7 separate regions of the Homo sapiens genome follow, and regions 1, 2, 3, 4, 5 and 6 are each linked to region 7. Evidence: promoter capture Hi-C in 16 types of primary human blood cells and fetal thymus (Javierre and others, 2016). All regions are on one chromosome and are shown on one strand. Each heading gives the region's core, a stretch centred on a gene start or on the middle of the fragment in contact. The rest is flanking DNA. Distances are from core to core; before and after follow the strand shown. Region 1 has its middle 25 kb from the start of CD82. Region 2 has its middle 60 kb from the start of CD82. Region 3 overlaps LOC105376646 (a long non-coding RNA gene). Region 4 has its middle 5.6 kb from the start of CD82. Region 5 overlaps EXT2 (exostosin glycosyltransferase 2). Region 6 has its middle 76 kb from the start of CD82. Region 7 holds the start of ALX4 (ALX homeobox 4).

Region 1 (3,067 bases), core at 157-2,656, 230 kb before region 7:
GTGGCGGTTGCTATAGCGATGATGATGCAGATGCTGGTTGCTACAGTGATGATGGGAGTGATGACTGTAGTGATGAGAAGAATGGTGAAGTGTGATGGTGAGGTAATGAGAGGTCATTATGGTGATGATAATGATGGTGGTGGTGGTGATAGTGATGATTGTGTTGCTGATGATGGTGGTGATCCTGATGACAACAATGGTAATGCAAGAATGGCATTGACATTGGTGGTGTTAATAGCGATATCGATGGGAGCTCTTTTTATGGCTGGATATAGAATTGTGAATCACTTCTCCCTGGTCATGGATCACCTTTTCTTCATGAGATGACAGCTAGATTTATAATTCCAGATCTGATCTGTTCAACAGTTCCTGGACTCATATATGCATTTTTATGTCTCATCTCTTCTCATGCAACCACATGTGGAACTCTTCTTCCCTTTAGCATCTGCCCCACACCTGTTCCTCCTGTCATCCTCATCTAAGTAAGTCACAGCACCATTCATCCACGGTGCAAATTCTAGGACATACCCTTGGTTCCTTCCTTTGACATATCTTCCCCATCCACCCCGATTTCCAGCCCTTCAGTAAGCCCAGCCACCTCTACCTTCCAATGCTTTTGATCTGCCTCCTTCCACCCTTTTGTTCCAAGTCACCGTCATCGCCCTCCTGGCTTAATGCAATCATCTCCTAACTGGACAACTCAACTCCCTGGTTTCAGTCTTTTTTATTTTTATTTTTTATTTTTGGAGATAAGGTCTCACTCTGTTGTCTGGGCAGGAGTACAGTGGTGTGATCACGGCTTACCGCAGCCAGCCTCCAACTCCTGGGCTCAAGTGATCCTCCCACCTCAGCCTCCTGAGTAGCTGGAACTACAAACGTGCCACCACACCCAGATAATTTTTTTTTTTTTTTTTTAGAGACAGGGTCTTGCTATGTTGCCCAGGATGGTCTCCTGGCCTTGAGTGATCTTCTCACCTGGATCTGCCAAAATGCTGGGATTATGGGCGTGAGCCACCACACTTAGCCTGGCTTTCACTCTTGCCACCCTACAATCCTTCTCCTCTCAGCAGTCAGAGTGATACTTTACAAATGCAAATCAGACCTTATCATGTTTCTGCCCCAAACTTTCCTACAGTGTTTTATTGCCCTGGACAAAAATCAAAGCTTTTTTTTTTTTCTCTAGGCATGTGCTCTAACCCCCGCCTAGTTGTCTGACCTCCTCTCCTCTCATGCTTCAGTCACACTTTCTGTTTCTCTAATGCCCCAAGCACCTTCCCACCTCGGGGCCTTTGCATCTGCCATTCCCTCTGCCAGAAACACTCAGTTCCTAGATCTGCACAGCCAGTGGCAGCGTAAGAATTCAAACCAGCTGGGTTGGCCTCTCTCAGCACATTGCTTTGCTTTATCTGCCCTATGATATTTATCACCATCTTCATCTTATTTACTTATTAGGTCATTATTAGACCCCCTCCCACAACAAGAGTGTAAGCCTCATAAAAGCAGGACCTATGTCCTTGTTTCCCACTGTGTCCCCAGCATTGAGAACAGTGAATAGTAGATGTTCTACAAATGGCTGTGAATAAATTGATTGGCTCAAGAGACAAATTAGACACATACCTCACTCCAAGTAAGTTAAAAATCAAGCTTATGACCACGTGATCTCCTCAGTGAACACAGATCATCCTTCCTCCTCTGCTCTTGTGCCCTCTACTCCCTCCCCAGTTCACCTCCCAAATCTGATCACAGCTTCTGGTTTGAGTTCCTTGCTCCACCCCTAGAGTAACCATTGCAACACATAAATCTATTTTCTTCTGCTCCTCCACCTTCCCAAGATGCCAAGAGGAAAGAAGCGCAGGGGGAAGAAAGTGGCCCCGGCCCCTGCTGTCATGGAGAAGCAGGAGACCAAGAAAGTGGTGAATCCCCTCTGTTAAGAAAAGGCCTAAGAATTTTGGCACTGGACATCCAGCCCAAAAGTGACCTCAGCCGCTTTGTGAAATGGCCCTGCTATATCAGGTTGCAGCGGCAGAGAGCCATCCTCTATAAGTGGCTGAAAGTGCCCCCTGTGATTAACCAGTTCACCCAGGACCTGGACCACCAGCTACTCAGCTGCCTAAGCTGACCCACAAATACAGACCAGAGACAAAGCAAGAGTAGAAGCAGAGGCTGTTGGCCCAGGCTGAGAAGAAAGCTGACAGCAAAGGGGACATCCTCACTAAGAGACTACCTGTCCTTCAAGCAGGAGTCAACACCGTTACCCCTTGGTGGAGAACAAGAAGGCTCAGCCAGTGATGACTGCATGTGAACAGACGTTTGGTTGCCAGCCTGCTGCTTCCCGCAGAGAAGAGTGTGCATGCTAGGCCGATCACCTCTCAGCAGGTAGCTTGGAGACAATGGGCCTAACCATTTTGAGTAGCACTTGACATGACGAGGATCCCATCGAGCTTGTTGTCTTCCTGCCTGCCCTGCATTGTAAAATGTGGGTCTCTGATTGCATTATCAAGGGGAAGGCAAGACTGGAACGTCCAGTCCACAGGAAGACCTGCACCACTGTTGCCTTCACACAGGTTAACTCAGAAGACAAAGGAGTTTTGATGAAGCTGGTGGAAGCTGTCAGGACTAATTACAACGACAGATATGATGATATCCGTCGTCACTGGGGAGGCAATATCCTGGGTCCCAAATCTATGGCTTGCATTGCCAAGTTGGAAAAGGCAAAGGTTAAAGAACTTGCCACTTAACTGGGTTAAATGTACACTTTCATTTTCTGTACATAAAAATCATTAAAATGATACAAATTCTCCTTCAAAAAGAATTTTCCCTCTTCCCTGCTTAAGACCTATCGATGTCATGCATGCACTGATTTCCACACTGGGGTCGGCAGCTTTTGATGGTTCCTTAGGAATCCAGAGGAGGTGGGGGATGGGCAGAGCAAGTGTGGTTCCTAACTTCACATCCCCCCAACCCCTACTGCCAGAGAAGCCTTACTTGTACCAGGTGTACAGAGAGGCAGTCCCATAACCTTGAGATGAAGGTCAAGGCTTCAAAGCCAGGCGGCCTGCATTCAAAA
Region 2 (3,417 bases), core at 255-2,754, 200 kb before region 7:
TGTCCCAGCATTAGCCCAGGATGTGGCCACCTCCCTGTCTTTCAGCCAGACCTTTGGCAGAGCCACCAGCAGGTCCTCCTCTCTCTCTGCCTCATGGGGCAGAAATCTGCATCCATGACCTTCCTCTAAACTGGCTGGGCTTGTCTGGCTCCTGTGACCCAGAACCCAGCCCTGAAAGGCTGATTTAGGCTACTTGGATGTCTCACTCCTTCAGCTGGCCCAGCATTGCCTTGAGTGGCCCGTGTAGAAAGAAGGCAGGGAGAAAGGAGGCCCTGCTGGGGACCGGCTGGGGCCACATCTGGAATTAAGAGCCAAAAATGCAGCTTGGTGCTGATAAGGCTTTATTGAAAGGACATGAAAGTCCCGATGGCAGTAACTCTCCATGCTCCAGTTCACACTGCTTTACGAGGTGTGACTCACTCTGGTACCTTCGAGACGGCCTCTCTCCCACTCCATCCACCCTGCCTCTTCCCTGCTTTCCTGCTCCTAGCCCACCTTGGGCCTCCACACCCACCCTTGGCTTGGGGGGTGGGTGGAAGCAACTGCCCCCGCCCCAGAAAAGACCAAGGAGGCCTGGGGGTCCAGGCCCCTGTCCCAGGCTGCTTGCTCCCACTTTGCCCCATGGAAATTGAAACTTGGGAGCTGCCTGGCCCAAAACTGGTAAAAAAAAAAAAAAAAAAAAAAGATTCAGAGTGGCCCCTGCTCTGGGCTGGAGTTAGAAGTCCAAGGAAGAGAAAGTGATTGTGGAGTATATTAGTCAATTCTCACACTGCTATAAAAAAAAACTGAAACTGGGTCATTTATAAAGAAAAGAGGCTCATGGTTCAGCAGGCTATACAGAAAACATGATGGTGGCATCTGCTCAGCTTCTGAGGAGGCCTTAGGACACTTACAATCATGGCTGAAGGCAAAGGGGGAGTGAGCACTTCACAAGGCCGGAGCAGGAGGAAGTGTGGAAGGAAGTGCTAGACACTTTCAAACAACCATATCTCACGATCTCAATGACAGCAGTAAGGAAGGATGGTGTTAAACCATGAGAAACCACTCTTGTGATCCAATCACCTCCCACCACGCCACACCTCCACCATTGGGGATTACATTTCAACATGAGATTTGGGTGGGGACACAGATCCAAACCGTAGTAGGGGACCAGGAGAGCAACAGCAATGTGATAAAATGGGTGGGGTGGGAGACAGCAGAAGAGAGGCCAGGAGGCAAAGGGAAAGTGCTGTGCTGAGGAAACAGATAGCACTAGACTCATTGCTGCTGTAACACGCTTAGTCACCAAAAACAATAACAATGTATCATCTTATGGTTTTGGAGGGCAGAAGTCCAAAATGGGTCTGGCTGGGCTAAAATCAAAGTGTCTGCAGGGCTACATTCCTCCTGAAGGCTCCAGGGGAGAATCTACTCCTTTGTCTTTTGCATCTTCTGGAAGATACCCACGTTCTGTGGCTCCGGCTCCTTCCTCCATCTCCAAAGGTGGCGTGGCATCTTCAAATCTCTCTCCAGCTCTGACACCGACTCTCACTGCCCTCTTTCACTTGTAAGGACCACCCAGATAATCCAGGATAATCTCCCCAACTCAAGGTCAGCTGATTAACAACCCCAGTTCCTTCTATAATCTTGCTATGGATTGAATGTTTGTGTCCCTCCAAATTCATGGGTTGGAGCACGAAGCTCCAATGCAATGGTATTAGGAAATGGGGCCTTCGGGAGGTGATTAGGTCATGAGGGTGGGGCCCCCATGATGGGATTAGTGTCATTATAAGAGGAAAAGGGCTAAGTAAGCCCTCTCTCTGGCCTCAGCCATGTGAGGACTTGGTGAAGAGGCCTGTCAACAAGCCAGGAATCGAGCCCTAACCAGACCTCTACCCTCCTGGCCCCTTGACCGTGGACTTCCCAGCCTCCAGAACCTTGAGAAATAAATGCCTGTTGTTTAAGCCACCCAGTCTAGGGCATTTTGTTACAGCAGCTGAAGCAGACCAGGACAAACCTTAATTCTCCCTTGTCATGGAACATAGCATATCACAGATTCTGGGGACTAGGGCTTGGGGATATATGGAGGTGGTATTATTCTGCCTTTCACACAGGGTCACAGAGAGATCCTCTTGGGCCTCAGAGTCTCCATGTGGAGGGTGTGTGTGCTGTATGTGAAGGGTGTGTGTACAGAGGGTGTGTGTGTGTCTGTAGAATGTGTGTGTGAAGAGTATACGGAGGGTGTGTGTGTGTAGAGTGTATGGTGTGTGTAGGGGAGTGTGTATGGAGGGTGTGTGTGTGTGTAGAATGTGTGTGAAGAGTATATGCAGGGTGTATGAGGTGTATGTGTAGGGTGTGTGTACAGAGGGTGTGTGTGTGTGGAGGGTGTGGAGTGTGTGTGTATGTAGAATGTGTGTGTGCATGGAAAGTGTGTGTGGCGTGTGTGTGGAGAATGTGTGTGTGTGAAGAGTGTATGGAGGGTGTGTGTGTGTAGAGTGTATGGAGGGTGTGTGGTGCTTGTGGAGACAGTGTGTGTGTGTGTGGAGAGAGTATGGAGAGTGTGTAGTGTGTGTGTGTAGAGTGTATGGAGAGTGTGGTTTGGTGTGTGTGTGGTGTGTGTGTAGTGTATGGAGGGTGTGCGGTGAGTATGTGGAGACAGGGCGTGTGTATGGAGAGCATATGAAGAGTGTGGGGTGGTGTGTGTGTCGGGGGTGGAGAGTGTATGGAGGGTATATGTGCGTGTGTGGTGTGTGTGTGTAGGAAGAAAGGTAGGGGTGCACAGAACTGCACATCCTAGCAGGAAGCACTAGTGTGAGGCAGAATCCTAAGGCGGGTAACCCTTTGCAGGTGATAAACTCAGATGTGTAAGTCAATGTGACCTCTTTCTTTTTTCGGGATGAGCTGATTTCTCCCTGGACCCTCCCTGTGCTGATGCTGTATTGCGCGGCCACACCCACTGCCATGAGTTTCTCAGGATTTTACTGGGCCCAAGTGGGAGGCAGGGCTTCCTCGGGTCTGGGCAGCTGCCATCCTTTCATCCTCCAATGACGGTGATGATGGTGATGGCTGTTCTCAGCCGCCAGACCCTCAGGTTGGGACCGTGGGAGCAGCTAGGCCTCCTCCAGGCTCCTCACAGCTTGGGATTCTCCTTACCTCCTGGCCGGGTCCTGCTTTGGGCCACCACCTTCCTGTCCTTAGCGGTGGTGTGGTTTCCCTGGGCTCCGGGGGTTCTCCCACCACACCCTGGGGAGACTGTGGGGACCCCACACTCCACGACTTTTCTCCAGGCTCTGCGCGTTTGAGGATGTGGGCACAGCCCAATGCCATCCCCCACTCCCCCACCCCCCCATGCAGCCAGTGTGCACAAACACACGCAGGCTTGCTGGGCTTTCCCTGGGGAGGGACAGAAACGTCCCTCTGCTCACCCACCTCCTAGTG
Region 3 (3,501 bases), core at 96-2,595, 210 kb before region 7:
TCCCCATTTTGTAGATGAGGACATGGAGGCCCAGCGAGGAGCACCCTCTGTTGCAGCCTCAGGATCCCGGGGAGACTGGCTGTGACTGGGACTCGGGTCTACCCACTCTTTGCTGCCTACTGTCTGGGACTGACATTTTGCAGAAGAGGGAATCAGCCTAGAGAAGCACAGTGACTCCTCCAGGGCCACCAAGCCAGGGGAAACCAGGTCACCTCGTCCTGGTGTAGATCCTGAAGGCTGCCTCTGCCCTGTGAGATTTCCCATGTCACTGCTCATTTGCACACTCAGCGCTTCCTCCTCCTCCTCCCAAGCTTCCTTCCAATTGGCGGCTGAGGCAGCATCAGAAACCACAGTGCTGGGCCCAGTGCCAGAGCCTCCCCCTCAGTGACCCCCTTCCCACGTCCTGAGTTTCTGAGACTAGCTCTGTCCAGGGGGAAGCTTTTCCAGCCCTTTCGAGCCCACGTGCACTCGAGAGTATGTGTGAAAACGTGCACTTACCTGGAGCATGTCTTCCCTGTGGTGTGCAGCGAGGGGCAAATAGGGCCCTCTCTAAGATTAGCCCCCAACCCCCGCCCCCGACACACACACACACTAATTTCCACAAGTATGGGCAGGACTTTCTGCTGAAGTCATCACAGATGGGTGGAGTTCGGGGGTGCTTGGTATCCTGGGGGTTTTCAGGGCAGTGTAGCCCCTGCACCAGGCGCTGCGTGCCTGGGGAGACACCAACAGCTTGCTGGCTAGGTGGTGGCCAGGCAGGGACAGAGAGCAGGCCCAGAGGGAGCCGGGGAGGCAGGACTCCAGGACATCTGGGCTGGGGGAAGGTGGAAAGTGCAAAATATCCGTGCAGGAGGTGAAGGCCTGGATGTGTAAGGCCCTGAGGTCTCTGACAGGAAGTGAAAACCTCAGGGAACTGGAAGCTTGGCTGGGAACAGGCCGTGAGAGGGAAACTCGGCCACACGGAGAAGCCGGCCGAGGCCTCCTTGAGCAGATGGGGATACTGAGGCTGAGGCAACTGCTTTGCTCAAGGGACTGGGAGTCTTTTTTATTTTCCACCCCACCGTTCCTAGATTAAAGCCAGCTGAGAATATTGCTTCTGTGACAGCCCGATTACCTTGGCCTAAATTTTCTAGTGGGTGAGGAGAGGCAGCACTGTGCTAACATAGCCAGCTTTTTTTTTTTTTTTTTTTAACTTTTTTAGTGACAGGGTCTTACTCTATCACCCGGGCTGGAGTGCAGTGACACAATCAATGACTTGCTGCAGCCTTGAACTCCTGGTTTCAAGCAAACCTCCTACTTCAGCCTCCTGAGTAGCTGGGACCACAGGCATATGCCACCACACCTGGCTAATTTTCCAATTTTTTGTACAGACAGGATCTCATGTTATTTAGGCTTGTCTGGGACTCCTGGCCTCAAGCAATCCTCCTGCCTCGGCCTACCGAAGTGCTGGGATTACAGGCATGAGCCACTGCACCCGGCCACCAGCATTTGTTAAAGTCTCACCACGGATCAGGCTCTCATCTAAAAAACTTGAAGTTGTCATTCTGTGTCCTTACAGTAACCCCTCAAGGTAGGTGTCACTCTCATCTCCATTTTACAAATGAGAAAAGAGGCTAACTAAGGGAAGTTAAAGAGCTTGCCGAAGATCACATAGCCAGAATTTTAATCCGAGGATCTGGAGCCTCTTTTGCGGTGCCATCAAAGGCTTGCTGGCTCCCCCTGGTGTGCCCTCAAGGCAGCTGCCTGTGACTGTCCTGTAGGGGAAGCTTTGCAGATAGGGGACCTTTGTAGATCGTCGATATCCTGGGCTCTGCGCATGCTGTGGTTCCTCTGCCTGAAATGCTCTTCCTGCCTCTTCTTCTTCTTCTTCTTCTTCTTCTTCTTCTTCTCCTTCTCCTTCTCCTTCTCCTTCTCCTTCTCCTTCTCCTTCTCCTTCTCCTTCTCCTTCTCCTTCTTCTTCTTCTTCTTCTTCTTCTTCTTTCTTCTTCTTCTTTTTTTTTTTTTTTTTGATACGGAGTCTTCCTCTATTGCCCAGGCTGGAGTGCAGTGGCTCAATCTTGGCTCACTGCAACCTTCGCCTCCTGGGTTCAAGAAATTCTCCTGCCTCAGCCTCCCGAGTAGCTAGGACTACAGGCGCACACCATCATGCCTGGCTAGTTTTTTTGTATTTTTAGTAGAGACGGGGTTTCACCATATTGGCCAGGCTGGTCTTGAACTCCTGACCTCGTGATCTGCCTACCTTGGACTACCAAAGTGCTGGGATTACTGACGTGAGCCACCGCGCCCAGACTTCCTGCCTCTTTTCTAGTGTCCTGGCCTGCTTTGGAGCTCAGTCTGAAGTTAGCTCCTGCTTTGGGGGTTACCTCCCCCTGAACTCCAGGCTAGGCTGGGTTTCCCTGTTTTTCCTCCCAGAGCACCTGTATATCTTCTTTGTAGCATTCATTCATTCATTCATGTTTCATTCAGTAAGTATCTACTCAGAGCACATGGTAAGTCAGGTGCTGGAGACAGAGCACAAAGGGGTCACAACTCCCACCCTCGTGGTGTGCACTGTCTAGTGGGGAAGACAGGAAAACAAAGAAATGCATAACCTTGTACCAAATACTCATACTCCTACTTTTTGAAAAATCAGGAAAGGGGATGGAGATTGATGGGGTGGTATTTTAGACATGGGGGTCCGGAAAGGTCACTCAGAAGAGGTGACATTTGAGCAGAGATGTGAGCAAAGTGATTTGTCATAGCATGCCTTAATTATTCTCTGAACTTCTGTCTCATGCCTGTCTTTTCTACTGGGCTATAGCTGAAGACAAAATATTTGCCAGTCTTGTTCATGAAGGTATTCCAATGCCTAGAACATTGCTTTTGCACATAGTAGGTGCTCAACAAACGGGCCTTGCACACAGTAGGTGAGTAAATGAGTGAGTGAATAAATGAATGAATGAATGAATGATGGAGGCAGAAAAATCTTTGCAGGCTCAAGTGCTAACTCTAGTCCTGTGCTCCACAACAGTTGCAGACATGTCAATCTCCTCCTCAAAGCCTCCCTTTCCTCCTAAATAGGGAATTAATGGGGAGCTTGACCGATCCTTTGGGACAGGTGTTAAGAATCTCAACTGGTTAAAAAATCTGGACCCAAAATAGATGATTAAGAGACCCAGAAGGCAGTGGGGCTGTGAGGACGTGGAGGGCAAAAAGGCATCCAGTTTGCATTGCTCCAATTCCTCCCCAGACAGCCAGCCTCGATGGACTGTCTGTAGTCCACACTTTTTTTTTTTTTTTTTTTGAGACTGAGTCTCGCTCTGTCACCCAGGCTGGAGTGCAGTGGTGCAATCTCGGCTCACTGCAACCTCCGCCTCCTGGGTTCAAGCGATTCTTCTGCCTCAGCCTCCCGAGTAGCTGGGACTACAGGTGCGTGCCACCACACCCGGCTAATTTTTGTGTTTTTAATAGAGGCAGGGTTTCACCATATTGGCCAGGCTGGTCTCAAACTCCTGACCTCAT
Region 4 (3,121 bases), core at 124-2,623, 250 kb before region 7:
TCCTCATCATGAGGGCCCCATCCTGATGACCTTATCTAATCCTCCCAAAGGCCCTACCCCCAAATACCATCAACATATGAATTTGGGGATTCAGTTTCCAATACATTCAAACCATAGCAGAGTCATTCACTGAAATATCACATTGGGTTGGCTCCCTCAGCATTGTCCCTATCCCCTCTCTTCCAGCAGAAGGCAAGCTTTGTCATGACTCACCTTGGGCATTTTGCCAGGCAGAAAGCGCAGACACTTCTAGTGAGACTCTACCTCTAGTCCATTCTAGAGGTGGAGCCAGGAGTTCTGGAGGTGGGAAAAGGGGTGAGAAGAACCACCCTAGAAAGCCTTGAGAGAAGATATCCATGGCCAACTTGGAGATGGGGAAGACGGTGGTGTGGCAAGACCTCAGAGAGGTATGGCTATAGGATTGCCAGGCTCTCAGAAGATTCCCCCACCCCAAAGGTGGAAGATGAACAGCTGAGCAGGAGACTTCAAAGAACTTGTAGGCAAGAACATGGGGGCCAGTTCCCTGTTAGTGTCTGGGCCTAGGTTAAGGCCCCAAGACTTTTGCACATCTCTGGTGGAGGAAGGTAAAGAGAATGAGTGCGGGTATCTGTTTCCTACTGTTATGTAACAAACCATCCCACTCATTTATTTTGCCCATAAATCTGCAGTTTGGGGTGGGCTCAGCAGCAACGGCTTATCTCTGCTCTACGCAATGTCAGGTGGTTCAATTGGAGGTTGGGGATCCATTTTCAAGATGGTGTACTCACACACCTAGCAAGTTGGCACTTGCTGCCAGCTGGGAGGTCAGCCAGAGCTGTGGAGGCCTTTGGTCCTCTCCATGAGGCTGCTCCACAGGTTGCTTGAGCTTCTTCATAATTTGGCTGCCGGTTTTGAAGAACAAAGACTCACTTAGAAGTGCATGGCATTTTGTGACCTAGCCTTAGAAGTCATATAGGATCACTTCCTTTGCATCCTATTAGTAGAAGCAGTCACCAAGGCCCTGGTTCAAGAGCAGGGTACATAGTCTCTTTCTTAACCAGGGGGTAACAAAATTCTAGAAGAGTTTTCAAGAAAGGAGATATTGTTGCAGCCATCTGTGAAAAATACAATCTGCCCCAAGCGAGTCCTCAGAATGACTGGAGGAGGGTTTCTCTGATGGGAGCTGAGAGTTCAAACTCAATTGATTGTTTTAAAAAATGGTATACAGTATGTATCACACAAGCATTTGTGCACAAATGAATAAGAAGTTCAGCAGTGGACAACTGGTCTTGAGTAGCTGGATGTCTTTTTTTTGTTTTTTTTTTAGATGGAGTCTCACTCTGTTGCTCAGGCTGGAGTGTGGTCGTGCGACCTCGGCTCACTGCAACCTCTGCCTCCCAGGTTCAAGTGATTCTCCTGCCTCAGCCTTGTGAGTAGCTGGAACTACAGGTGTGTGCCACCACGCCCAGCTAATTTTTTTGTGTTTTTAGTAAAGACTGGGTTTCACCATGTTAGCCAGGATGACCTCGATCTCCTGACCTCGTGATCCACCCACCTCGGCCTCCCATAATCCTGGGATTACAGGCGTGAGCCACCGCGCCTGGCCTAGTAAGTGGATGTCTTAAGATCTTTCTTCAAGAGTCCTCAGAATAGAGTTAGCACTTCCCTCCCTAAACCTGCACTGTTTCCTTAAAGTTACAAACTTAAAAATTGCACTCATTTAATCCTGATAGCAACAACCCAGTGAGGCACATACTATTATGAGGCCCATTCCCAAGATGTGGAAATGGAGCACTCAGATGCTAAAGTCATACAACTAACAAGTGATGGAGGAAAGTGAAGTTGCAGCTTATATATAGCTAACCCAATTTTCAGTTCCTGAAATTGAGCCCTAGGGGAAAGGCCCAAGTTGGGACCCAGTGAGCGCCCAACACTGAATCGCAAAAGCTCGCACTGGATCAAGGAGGTTCCCCAGGGCCTTGAAGGGACCCTGCTTCCTGCTTACAGAAAGAAGGCTGGCCCCAGAAAGCTGGGCTCCAGCACTTGCTTGGCATAACCCCGCCCTATCCTCTGTCCTCTTGCCGAGTCTCAGGCCAGGAAGTGGTTAATAGCACTTTCCCACACTTTCTGTTTCCATTTCTCTATTCCTGAACACAGTCATTCCTGCATTTGAATGGGCTCAGCAGGACCACCGACCTTTATTTTTTTCTCCAAAGCACTTAAAGGGGATTGGAACTCTAAGCCCATTATAGCTGGGTTGTAGCTGAGGACAGGGGCTGAGTTCCCACAGAAGACACTGAGCCATTGATTTGTTCCTGTCTCAGTCATTTCAGAAAGATCAGTGAGGCCCCTGCTCAAATCCTGCCCTGCCGCCTACTACATCTGAAGGTCCAGGGGTTACTCTTCAGGGGGCTTTTAGCCCCTGTACATTGCCATGTTGCCATAGCAACTACGACACTAATAATGGCAGCCACCGTTTTAAAAGTAAGCTGTAAAATAACTAATTTAAATATATTTAACTAATTTGATAACTAGCATTTGCGTAGCACTTTACATATTCTAAAGCTTATTTATATTTATCTTACAACTGTGGCACTTGGGTAAGTCTTTGAAACTATTAAATCATGTCCCCCCCTCCCCAAATTCCCTGTTCTACCCGTTTATTTTTCTTTTTAGGCATCAGCTTAAACCCATGGTAGGGTTATATACATCCCAATATATGTCATTTGTTTATAATAGATATGTATGTACTATTTTATTAGCCATTTTGCATAATATGAACTATGCACAAAGACAAATATTTTATTTTATTTATTATTATTATTATTATTATTATTTTTGAGACAGATTCTCACTCTGTCGCCCAGGCTGGAGTGCAGTGGTACAATCTTGGCTCATTGCAACCTCTGCCTCCTGGGTTGGAGCAATTCTCCTGCCTCAGCCTCCCAAGTAACTGGGATTACAGGTGTGTTTCACTCACGCCCAGCTAATTTTTTTGTATTTTTAGTAGAGACGGGGTTTCACCATGCTGGCCAGGCTGGTCTTGAATTCCTGACCTCAGGCAATCCACCCACCTCGGCCTCCCATAATGCTGGGATCACAGGTGTGAGTCACTGCGCCTGGCCAAAAAACAAAAATTTTA
Region 5 (3,335 bases), core at 1-2,500, 210 kb after region 7:
GATGAGCCATCCCCACCAAGCTCTGCATAGATTCCACAATCATCAGCAAATAAATGACTGTTGTTGTTTAAAGCTTCTAAGTTTTGGGGTGGTTTGTTATACAGCTATAGATATATAAAACAGCCAATAAGCATTATTGACTGAGATGTAAAGAAAATTTGTAGTCCTCAGCTAAAAATGTAGAGTTCCCATGTAGACCACATTTTAAGATCCTTACCAAACAAGCCTCTCCTATATGATTCCCGGATACTGTTTCGGGGGAGGGCAGAGCCTTGAGTGTGGCTGCATCATCTGCCACATACTTACCATGTTACTGCAACAAGCTATTTTGGCATCCTGCATGTCAAAATACCAATCCACAAAAAGACAGCTGGGCACAGTGGCTCATGCCTATAATCCCAGCACTTTGGGAGGCCAAGGCAGACAGATCACCTGAGATCAGGAGTTCAAGACCAGCCTAGCCAACATGGTGAAACCCTGTCTCTACTAAAAATACAAAAATTAGCCAGGCATGATGGCAGACACCTGTAATCCCAGCTACTTGGGAGGCTGAGGCAAGACAGTCACTTAAACCTGGGAGGCGGAGGTGCAGTGAACCAAGATTGTGCCACTGCACTCCAGCCTGGGCAATAGAGCACGACTCTTTCTCAAAAAATAAAATAAAATAAAAATAAATAAACAAAATGGTATCATTCTACTCACGGATCTTCCAGGAAAGCTATTAATATAATGGGAAGTAACTGAAAAGCTCATAGACCATCTTAGAGTTATCAACCATTTTTGCTTCGGATAAATGGAGCTCTCCCCATCAGTGCCCACATGGTAAACTGCTTCCTGCCTAGCGAGCTGAGTATTGCCAAGCTTGAATGTTGCAATCACTTTCAGTTTTGGGGGTAAAATATGCTAAATGGTCATGAATCATTTCAAGTCATATCTCTCTAAGACCAGAAACTGGAACATAACAAGGAATTTGCCTATCATTGACTAATACATGAAAATTCATACATTTTGAGCTTAAAAGATTATCATCTTTGGAGTATATACATCAGTCACTCAATATATTCTAATTGTTCTATGACAGAAATGTGGCATGACAGCGATTTCACTTTTTCTATCATTCTAACAGTAAGCAGAATATTCCTGCCTGCTCCCATCCCCTACCAGCTGCAGGCCCACCCTATGGTATGGCTTCCTTGCCATTCTGCATATCCCTCCTGGAGTTTGAAGACAGGAAGTTTTGGGACAAATGCAGGCAAGGAGCTGCCCTCCGCTGGCCCATGTTAGAACTTCCCAAGAAGCTCTCAAGGTCTATGTGTATACTTGAATCAGTGGTTCCCCAACACCTGAAGGGTAAGAAGCACAAGAGTTTGTTAAAACAGATTCCTTGGCCCCACCACTGGAGGCTGTTATCAGTAAGTTTAAAATAGGGCCACAGAATATGTCATTTAAAAACAAGCTCCTCAAGTATTTTGTGCCATCTGGTTTTAAACCTTTATTAATATTAGACAAACTACCCTTTAATAGTGTTTTTCAAAACTTTTTTTAAACTAAAATTGACAGTAAGAAATATATGTTATATTGTGACCCAATATAGACAGATATATATATGTGTGTATATGGATATTTTAAATAAAGCTTCAAAAAACAACATTTAAGCTATGTACTGTGAGTACACAGTGTTAGCCACAGAACACGCAATGAACCCTCCATTTTTCTACTCTGTTATTCTATTGCTTTTTAAAAAATTCTGGCCATAACCTACTAGATCAATTATACCACCCAATAATGGGTCCTCCATAGCTTGAAAAATAGCTTCTATGTATGACAAAATTGAGGTTAAGGGAACAAAAACTGTATTCACACATGAGCTTCACAAATCTTTATGAGTTGCAGATTAACTATAAAAAAGACATATCACAACAAAGTAAAACCAAAGATAACAGAAGAAAATAATAAATAAAAGCACAGAGATTAATTAAAAAACAAAATAGAAATGGTCAACAAGGCTAAAAGTTGTTTGTTTAAAAACAGACTAATAAAATTCTGGTAAGATTAATCAAGAATTCAAGGAAAAAGGTGCAAATAAATACCTGAAAAGGGGAACATAACTCTAAATGCTGCATATATTTAAAAGATAAGATGGTATCAATGAATTTATGCCAGTACATTTGAAAACTCAGATAACATGGAAAAATTATTTTAAAATATACTTACCAAAAGCATCTCAAGGAGAAACAGCAACTCTGAGTAGCTCTATAACATTAAAGACACTGAATCAAAAGTTTAAAAATCTTCCTATAAAGAAAATTCCAGGCCCAGAAAATTTTCCAAGTTCTACCAAATATTCAAGAAATAATAATTCCAATTTTCCACAAATTATTCCAGAGTTCAGAAAAAAAAGAGGAAACACTTCAAAGCTCAGTTTAGGAGGCTAGCAAATGCTTCATACCAAAATCTTAGAACACTGGTTCTTGAAGTATGCTTCAGGCATCCCAGGCCCTTTCAAAGGGCTTATACTAGTTTAATACTGACATTTGCTTTATTCACTTCCATTTTCCAGAGGCTACATGACATATGACACTGCAACAGACTGAATGTAGAAGCCGATGGGATAATCCAACTGTGTTTTTTTAAGTTTTTCCAAAAATGATAAAATACATCAATTCACAGACTCAAGATGCTCAACTCAGAACAGAACATATATATATATAAAGAAAATGCTACCTAGATATATCAAAGCCAAACTGCTAAAAAGAAAGTTAAAGAAGAATATTAAAAGCAGCCAAAGGGGAGAAAAATCTATTCAAGGTATATCTTAAAACTAAATGTAAAAGGAAAAACTATAAAATATTTAGAACACAATAGAGAATATCAATGACATCTGGCAGAGAATGATTTCCAAAACACAAAAACCAGAAACCATTAAGAATTTTCCATCAAAAACACAATAAGGAAGTAAAAAGACAAGCTGCAAGCCTGAAGAATATATTTCCAGCACATATAAGCAACAGGGACTTGCAACCAGAATAAACTGTACGAAGCAATAAGAAAAAAACAAACAAAAAGAAAACAAAACAAACAAAAAACAGAAAACACACTTAAACAGGAATTTCACAGAAAAGGCAAAAAAGGCACATAAACATATAAAAAGATGTTTAGTCTCCTTAATGGTCATGGAAAGTAAGACCACAATGAGACCTATACCCAACAGCATAGGCAAATTAAGAGTCAAACACCACCAAGTATTGTTGGAGAAGATACGGAACCACAGGAACTGACTCCAGAGTCCCAAGTGGCCTCAGCAGAAGGAAGAGGGAGCTGACACTCACTATGTT
Region 6 (3,340 bases), core at 682-3,181, 180 kb before region 7:
GTGATCTATATTATTCTATCTTTAAAATATGTTTCAATATCTGCTAGTACAACTTCTTTTGTTATTTTTCCCAGATATGTATTCTCTCCTATTTATTATTCCAGATAAAATTTAGAACCACACTGTCAAGTTCCAAAAATAACTACATTGGAATTTTGGTTGGAATTGGGTTAAATTTTTCAATGTGTTTTAGAAGAATTGATATTTGTATAATTTTGAGTCATCAAGATATATCTCTGTCTGCTCAAGTTTTCCTCTCTGTACTTCCTGGGAATAATATAACTTTTTAGTTTTTTTGAGACAGGGTCTTGCTCTGTTGCCCAGGCTGGAGTTTAGTGGCTTAGTCTCAGCTCACTGCAACCTCCACCTCCCGGGCTCAAGGAATCCTTCCATCTCAGCCTGCCAAATAGCTGGGACTACAAGCATGCACCACTATGCCCAGCTAATTTTTTTGTATTTTTTTGTAGACATGAGTTTCACCATGTTGCCCAAGCTAGCCTTAAACTCCTGAGCTCAAGCATTCTTCCCGCTTCAGCCTCCCAAAGTGCTGGGATTACAGGTGTGAGCCACCGTGCTCAGCCTAATTTTGTATATGAACCTGCACATTTCTTATCAAACTTATTCCAAGATATTTTATTTTGCTGTTGTTTTTGCTGCCTTTGTGAACAGACTCTTTATTTTCATCATAGTACTTCTTGTTGCACCTTAAGAATACTACTGATTTTTGTATATTTATTTTGTAACTAGAACTATACCAAACAGTCTTATTGTTTACAACAGTTTTTAATTATCTTAGTCTTTCCAGCCTTCAAGATCCATGTTTCAGAAAGATTATTCTCCAGGAAAGACTGGAATGGGAGAGGTTGAAGGCCCAGAGTGAGGCCTGAGCTCTGGCTGGCCTCTCCTGCCAAATATGTTGTCTTTCTTGTAATCTATGTTAGAACTCAAAACTTTCAGCTTAATCCACAAGAATCTAGAAGCATTGCCTTTTCAATTGGCAATGAGGTAAAATAAATCTTCAGTTCCTTGAGATGTAATATTATCATGATTTACTCTCTGATGCAGTATTACGGGAAATCAATCAGTGTGGATGAAGGATAGTAATAAAGGCAAACATTGAATCGGCACTAGCTGTGTGCTGGGCACTGTCCTGATTACTTCACAGACACTGTCTCGCTCAATACTCAAGACAATTTTCAAGGTAGGTACCACTATTATCCCCATTTTACAGGTGAAGAAACTAAGGCACAGAACAGTAGAGCGGCTTGCCCAAGGTCACGTTGCTTTTAGTTGGTAGAAACAAGATTTGAACCCGATGGCTCCAGAGTCCATTGCTCAGAACCACTATAATAAAATGGGTTAGCTCTGTAGAAACCTGCTCTTTATTCAAAGCTCCAGAATAGCTTCCGAATCCCAAGCCCAGATTAAATGCAGGATTTCTCTCCTCTTTCTTCATCTCCTTTGATTCGGCCACCCCTGGAGGCCAGGGACTCCCAGCTTTCCACGCAGCCGAAGAATATTGAACCCCCAGGTCAGAGCTCCAAGTACAGAGTGAGGAGATGAGTTACAGGGCAGCGAGCACATGCTGGATTGGTATGCCAAGGCCTTGGAGGACCTCTGGTTTTAAAATGCAACTTTTTGCTAGGTGGATCTCTCATTTCATTACATTGCAGTCAATGGTTGAATTTTCTCCCTCTTTTGAAAATGGTTTTTAGTTTTTGGCCCTGACCTCTTGCTCTCTGGCCTGTCAGCCACATGATAGGGGGTGGAGGCTCCTCTCCTGTGCCAGACTGTTCCTGAGCAGGGTTTCCAGGCCACTAAGGCAACAGGGCCCAACCATTCTCTCAGAAAAACCCTATAGCTCCCCTCAGAGGCCCTGGACACACTGGCTGGAAATCAGTTTAACTGGCCAGTAGACCTCATGCTCTGGGAAATCAAACATGGCTGCACAGGTGACATTTGGGGCATTTCTAAATACATTTTGTATTAACAGTAATAATATTCATTCATTCATTTAACAAAACTTTATCTGATCCTTATTATATGCTGGAAATACAATGATAAATAAGACAGGTTCTTGCCTTCCTGGAATTTACATGCTAGGGAACTAACAAACAAACAAACAGACAAATAGATAAGAATTTCAAGTTGTTAGAAATGCTATCAATAAAGATAAAATAAACGGATAGAAAGTGGGGGATAAGGAGGTGTGACTTAAGACAAGTGGTCAGGGGAATCCTCCCTAATGAGCGGAAATTAGAGTTATACCTAGATGTTAGGAAGGAGTCATGCTGGGAAGAGCTGAGGGCTGGGTGTTCTGGACAAAGGGTGTTCCCTTTTGCTCACCATGGTATCCCAGGTTTTAGCTCAGAGCTGGCACTGAGTAGGAACTTAGTAATTGACAAGTGAATGAATCATGGCTCTTGGCAACTTTGAGTGGCTTTGCCTCTTGTCTGTGAGCTCTCAGGGGGAGATGCCTGGCTTAGAGCCCCTCTGCCTAGTTCCACCTGGCTCTCCTCTCTGGGAGAGCTCTGCTGGCCTCATCCTGCCAGATCCTTCCTCCCAGGTCGTCTGCTTTCCAGGCCCAAAGGCTGCATCGAGGGCCAAGATGGCTGCCAGAGCCAGGAGGGAGGGAGGGAGGGAGCGGGGAGGACCTGTGTTGGCAGAAGAGAGTTGGAGGCCCTCTTGTGTGGTGCCACTGGGGCTGGTGCTGGGTCTCAGTGTGGCTGGCAGTCAGTGGGCCGCAGCCAGCTCAGCCCTCCTATCCAGAAACACCACCCACCTCCAGGCTCCAGACCCCTCTCCACCCCGCTGGGCTGGGGATGCAGTCTCCATTAGGGAAAATGCTGAGTTAGACAGAGGCTTCCCCTTTGCCCGGCCTCCAGCCTTGTCTCTGGGTCCCTTACAGAAACACTTCATTTTCAGGCACAAGCTGAGGCCGAGTGGGGAAAGAAGCTCCACAGGCCAAATATTTGTAAGCAGAGCTGTTTTCCCAAGCAAAGCAGAACCAGATGCCACTGCCCTCCAGTGGAGGCCGGGCCCTGGCACTGGGAGGCCAGTCTGGGGGGTGGTCAGGGGGAGGCTGGCCAAGGATTGCCATGTGGGGTCCCGCAGAGCCAGCTGCTTCTTAAGATGTTCTTACGCAGTGGTGATCAGAATGTCACAGCATCCAGTGGGCCGCTTTTCCAGGCAGTTATCACCTGCCAAAACCCTGAGGCTCAAGGTTTTACCTGGTAGGAAAAACTGACCTAAGGCCTAGGTCTCAAAGGATTCTATATTTATTGATAATAGAAAGTGTGCCCAGCACCAACCACTTCATCAAGGATGAAAAATGGAAAAA
Region 7 (3,142 bases), core at 341-2,840:
CTTTTACCTCTCACCCTACTCCCAGACTCCCTAGAGGTACGTTCTCGCTTAACGATTTTCTCAGCGGTTTAAGGAAGGCTGCTCTCGCTGGTCTCCTTCAACTTGAACCATTCCACAGCCGGGGGCCAGTTTCCCCTCTGCATCTACGCTGTCCGCACGGCCTTCCAGGTCGGTGGAGGGACTAGCCTGAGCAGAGGTTCCAGGGCGCGACGGCTATTTCCCAGCTGTGTGACCTGGACCAGGTGGCCGCCCCTCTCTGAGCCTCCGTTAGCTCATCAGAAAATTGGGGGCGCCAATCTCTAGCACGGTTGTCATGAAGCGAAATCGAGGGGCTGCACGCGCAAAGTTTTTTCCCTTGCTGTGGCGGTGCCAGGGGCCTTGAGGCTCGCAGTGGTGGTGAAACCACAACCTATCAAAACCAAGCAGTTCGTTTTACAGTCGGGGGCAGTGAGGCCAGAAAGGGAAGAGACGGTCTCACCCCTCTCCCCGACCCCTGACCCCAAGGAGTGAACAGGTGACAGCGCGACTATCGGGCAAGGTCAGGGGGTCTCCAGAGTCCGCTCTCTGTACTTCGCCTGGCAGGAAATCCCCTCGCCTGGGCGCAGACGTGGGGCGTGAACGGTGCGGCCTCTAGACGGGAGCGCAGAGGGCAGCGCTCTAAAGCTTCTGAAGCCGGGCCCAGCCCAGGGCTTCTCCAGGGCTTGAGGGAGCACAGATTCCGCTACATCCCAGCCCAGCGCCCTTACAGCAGAGGGAAATAGTTAACAAGACGTGCAAGTGACCATGCACTGGACGACGAAGGCTTGTGTGTGTGTTAATCTCCCGTAGGAACGGGAATGGGGAGGAAGGTTGGAAACCTAGGAAAAGGTGCCAGCGGGAAGGCCCGCAGCGGCGCCCGCGAGCTCGCGCGCAGGAGTCCGTAGGACTCGCTTGCATCCGCAGGCCCGTGGTCCCCCTGGCTTCGAATGTCAAAACCTGTTAGGTTTATTTTGGGGGGCTTTTTTTTAACCTGTCATTAAAATTTGCATTTCCCTTTGCCCTAAGGCAAAGCTCCGACACCCCGCCAATTCTCAGCCTAGCCTCGGGAGCCCTGGGGATCCTGGCATCTCCCCAGCCCCGCCTAGAATCGGAAAAGCCCTCGGGCGCCTCCGGGTTGAATCCCCGCTAGCGAGTTAGTAGCATCTCCTTAAGAGTGGAGAGGAGGGGGCAGGGGCCAGTGGAAGGAGAGAGGAGGAGGGGACGAGAGAGGGGGAAAGGAAGAAGCAAGGCAGGGAAAAAAATTTACTTATTTTTTTTTTCCGCTGCAAAACCTTAAGAGGGTTTGGGAGATCTGGTCAACTTTCCGAAACATCTGAATCTTTTTACTGCCCTCCGTTCTTTCCCTCGGCTAGCTGTGGGGAGGGAGGAAAGAGAGAGAGGGAGAGAGAGAGGAAGGGGGGGGGAGGGAGGGGAAGAGAGAGAGAGGAGGGAGAGAGAGGAGAGAGACAGAGAAAGAAGAGGGGGAGAGAGAGAGAGGCCGGCGTGGAGGGGAGGAGGGAGAGCGAGCAGGCCGGGCAAGGAGTGCACAGCCACAGCCTCCTCGCCTCCCCAAACTCCCAGCCAAGGCGCGCGGTGGCGTCCTCGCGCCCTCGCTCGCGTCCCCGCCCGCCGCCTGCGCAAGCCAGGCATGAATGCTGAGACTTGCGTCTCTTACTGCGAGTCGCCGGCCGCTGCCATGGACGCCTACTACAGCCCGGTGTCGCAGAGTCGGGAGGGCTCGTCGCCTTTTAGGGCATTTCCCGGAGGCGACAAGTTCGGCACAACTTTCCTGTCGGCCGCCGCCAAAGCACAGGGATTCGGGGACGCCAAGAGCCGGGCCCGTTACGGCGCTGGGCAGCAGGACCTGGCGACACCCCTGGAGAGTGGAGCTGGGGCGCGGGGCTCCTTTAACAAGTTCCAGCCCCAGCCGTCGACCCCGCAGCCCCAGCCGCCGCCGCAGCCGCAGCCGCAGCAGCAGCAGCCGCAGCCCCAGCCGCCCGCGCAACCGCATCTTTACTTGCAGCGAGGCGCCTGCAAGACGCCCCCGGACGGCAGCCTCAAACTCCAGGAAGGCAGCAGCGGCCACAGCGCGGCCTTGCAGGTTCCCTGCTACGGTGAGTGCACGTGCGGGTCACCTGGTGCTGGGGACCACGGGGTGCTTGGCTTCCGCATCCCTTGAAACTGGTGGCTTGCGGGAGGTATGAGTTGGCGGGCTGGGGGCGGGGTGGTGACTCTGGTCGGTAAACGGGATCGATCGCTGCGAGGGAGCCAAGGGATCTGTTCTGTCTCCTTCTTGTCCGCCGGCCTAGGCACGGAGCGTTTCGGCTGTTAAACTCGACTTGGAGTTTGTTTTTCCCGGTCCCTTCGGCATTTCCCCAAACCGCTCGCTTTGCGCTGCCCGCTGGGCGGGATTTGAAGCGGATGCTTCTTACCGGCCCAGGGCGTGCGGCGGCAAGGAGTCTCCGCGCAGCGCTCTGGCGCTGGGCTGCGGGGCTGCGGGGCTGCGGGGCTGCGGGGCTGCGGGGCTGCGAGGCTGCGGGGCTGCGGGGCTGCGGGACAGCAGGACTGCAGAAGCCTCGCTCCTCGCCGGCTGGGAGGCTCCTCGGGCGGCGCCGCCGCAGGTGAGAGCGCCGCAGGTGCGGAGCCAGGCGGGAAGCCCGGAGCGTGGTTGGCCGAAAGCTCACGGGAAATCCAGGCGCACTGGCGCAACACAGTGCGGAGCCAGAGACCCTAGGGTCCCAGGGGACACTGTGGTCTGGCAAGACCCGAGTCCTGGGACCCTGAGCGCTACTGGCAGTGGGGATGCGGGCAGGCCAGTTCCCCTGGAGCTTCTCCCTCGGCGATTCTTGGAGGCGGCAGGCCTCTGAACAATGGTTTAGGACAGAGTAGGAAGGGAGACAGGAAGTCCCGAGTCCCAGGTGGCCCAGAGCTGTGGCAAGAGAGAAGGGTCTGGGTCCTGATTTGAGCCCACGGGGAACCCGGGGGAGCTGGCCTAAATGACCTCCAAGCTGCCTTGAACGCAGCCACAGGAGGCAGGCCTGGGCCCCCCAGAGCACAGCCACCATTGCCCGGGAGAGAGAGACACTCAAGGACGTCTCTAGCCAGAGCAGCTCAGTAGCCTAGG

The links. Contacts are between HindIII fragments. The CHiCAGO score rates a contact against its expected background, and 5 or more counts as called.
Region 1: a contact is called between a fragment that was not itself captured here and the fragment with the promoter of ALX4 in region 7, in 8 of 17 cell types (total B cells, naive B cells, M2 macrophages and 5 more). The highest score is 12.4, in total B cells.
Region 2: a contact is called between a fragment that was not itself captured here and the fragment with the promoter of ALX4 in region 7, in 1 of 17 cell types (neutrophils). The highest score is 5.3, in neutrophils.
Region 3: a contact is called between a fragment that was not itself captured here and the fragment with the promoter of ALX4 in region 7, in 8 of 17 cell types (megakaryocytes, naive B cells, M1 macrophages and 5 more). The highest score is 8.5, in megakaryocytes.
Region 4: a fragment that was not itself captured here is called in contact with the fragment with the promoter of ALX4 in region 7 in 1 of 17 cell types (total B cells); the score reaches 6.3 in total B cells.
Region 5: a fragment that was not itself captured here is called in contact with the fragment with the promoter of ALX4 in region 7 in 1 of 17 cell types (endothelial precursors); the score reaches 6.0 in endothelial precursors.
Region 6: a contact is called between a fragment that was not itself captured here and the fragment with the promoter of ALX4 in region 7, in 1 of 17 cell types (M2 macrophages). The highest score is 5.0, in M2 macrophages.

The regions. Positions count from the first base shown.
Region 1 is chr11:44,539,459-44,542,525 of GRCh38, reverse strand. It overlaps the pseudogene RPL7AP79. Among named protein-coding and RNA genes, the nearest start is that of CD82, 25 kb to the left of the region's middle. RefSeq lists an enhancer at 2,125-2,731. The HindIII fragment of the contact is 480 bases long and covers 1,167-1,646 here.
Region 2 is chr11:44,503,533-44,506,949 of GRCh38, reverse strand. No RefSeq gene overlaps it. Among named protein-coding and RNA genes, the nearest start is that of CD82, 60 kb to the left of the region's middle. The HindIII fragment of the contact is 8,151 bases long and covers 1-3,417 here.
Region 3 is chr11:44,521,908-44,525,408 of GRCh38, reverse strand. LOC105376646 (a long non-coding RNA gene) reads left to right here. Exons shown (of 5, transcript XR_931232.1): 2 at 1,371-1,570; 3 at 2,801-2,906. Among named protein-coding and RNA genes, the nearest start is that of CD82, 42 kb to the left of the region's middle. The HindIII fragment of the contact is 846 bases long and covers 923-1,768 here.
Region 4 is chr11:44,558,548-44,561,668 of GRCh38, reverse strand. No RefSeq gene overlaps it. Among named protein-coding and RNA genes, the nearest start is that of CD82, 5.6 kb to the left of the region's middle. RefSeq lists an enhancer at 1,870-2,506. The HindIII fragment of the contact is 2,347 bases long and covers 200-2,546 here.
Region 5 is chr11:44,102,625-44,105,959 of GRCh38, reverse strand. The region is part of intron 1 of EXT2 (exostosin glycosyltransferase 2); the gene reads right to left. Among named protein-coding and RNA genes, the nearest start is that of EXT2, 8.6 kb to the right of the region's middle. The HindIII fragment of the contact is 774 bases long and covers 864-1,637 here.
Region 6 is chr11:44,487,910-44,491,249 of GRCh38, reverse strand. No RefSeq gene overlaps it. Among named protein-coding and RNA genes, the nearest start is that of CD82, 76 kb to the left of the region's middle. The HindIII fragment of the contact is 5,220 bases long and covers 1-3,340 here.
Region 7 is chr11:44,308,587-44,311,728 of GRCh38, reverse strand. ALX4 (ALX homeobox 4) reads left to right here and starts at 1,590. Exons shown (of 4, transcript NM_021926.4): 1 at 1,590-2,132. The coding sequence starts at 1,667. RefSeq lists an enhancer at 684-1,612. The HindIII fragment of the contact is 7,283 bases long and covers 666-3,142 here.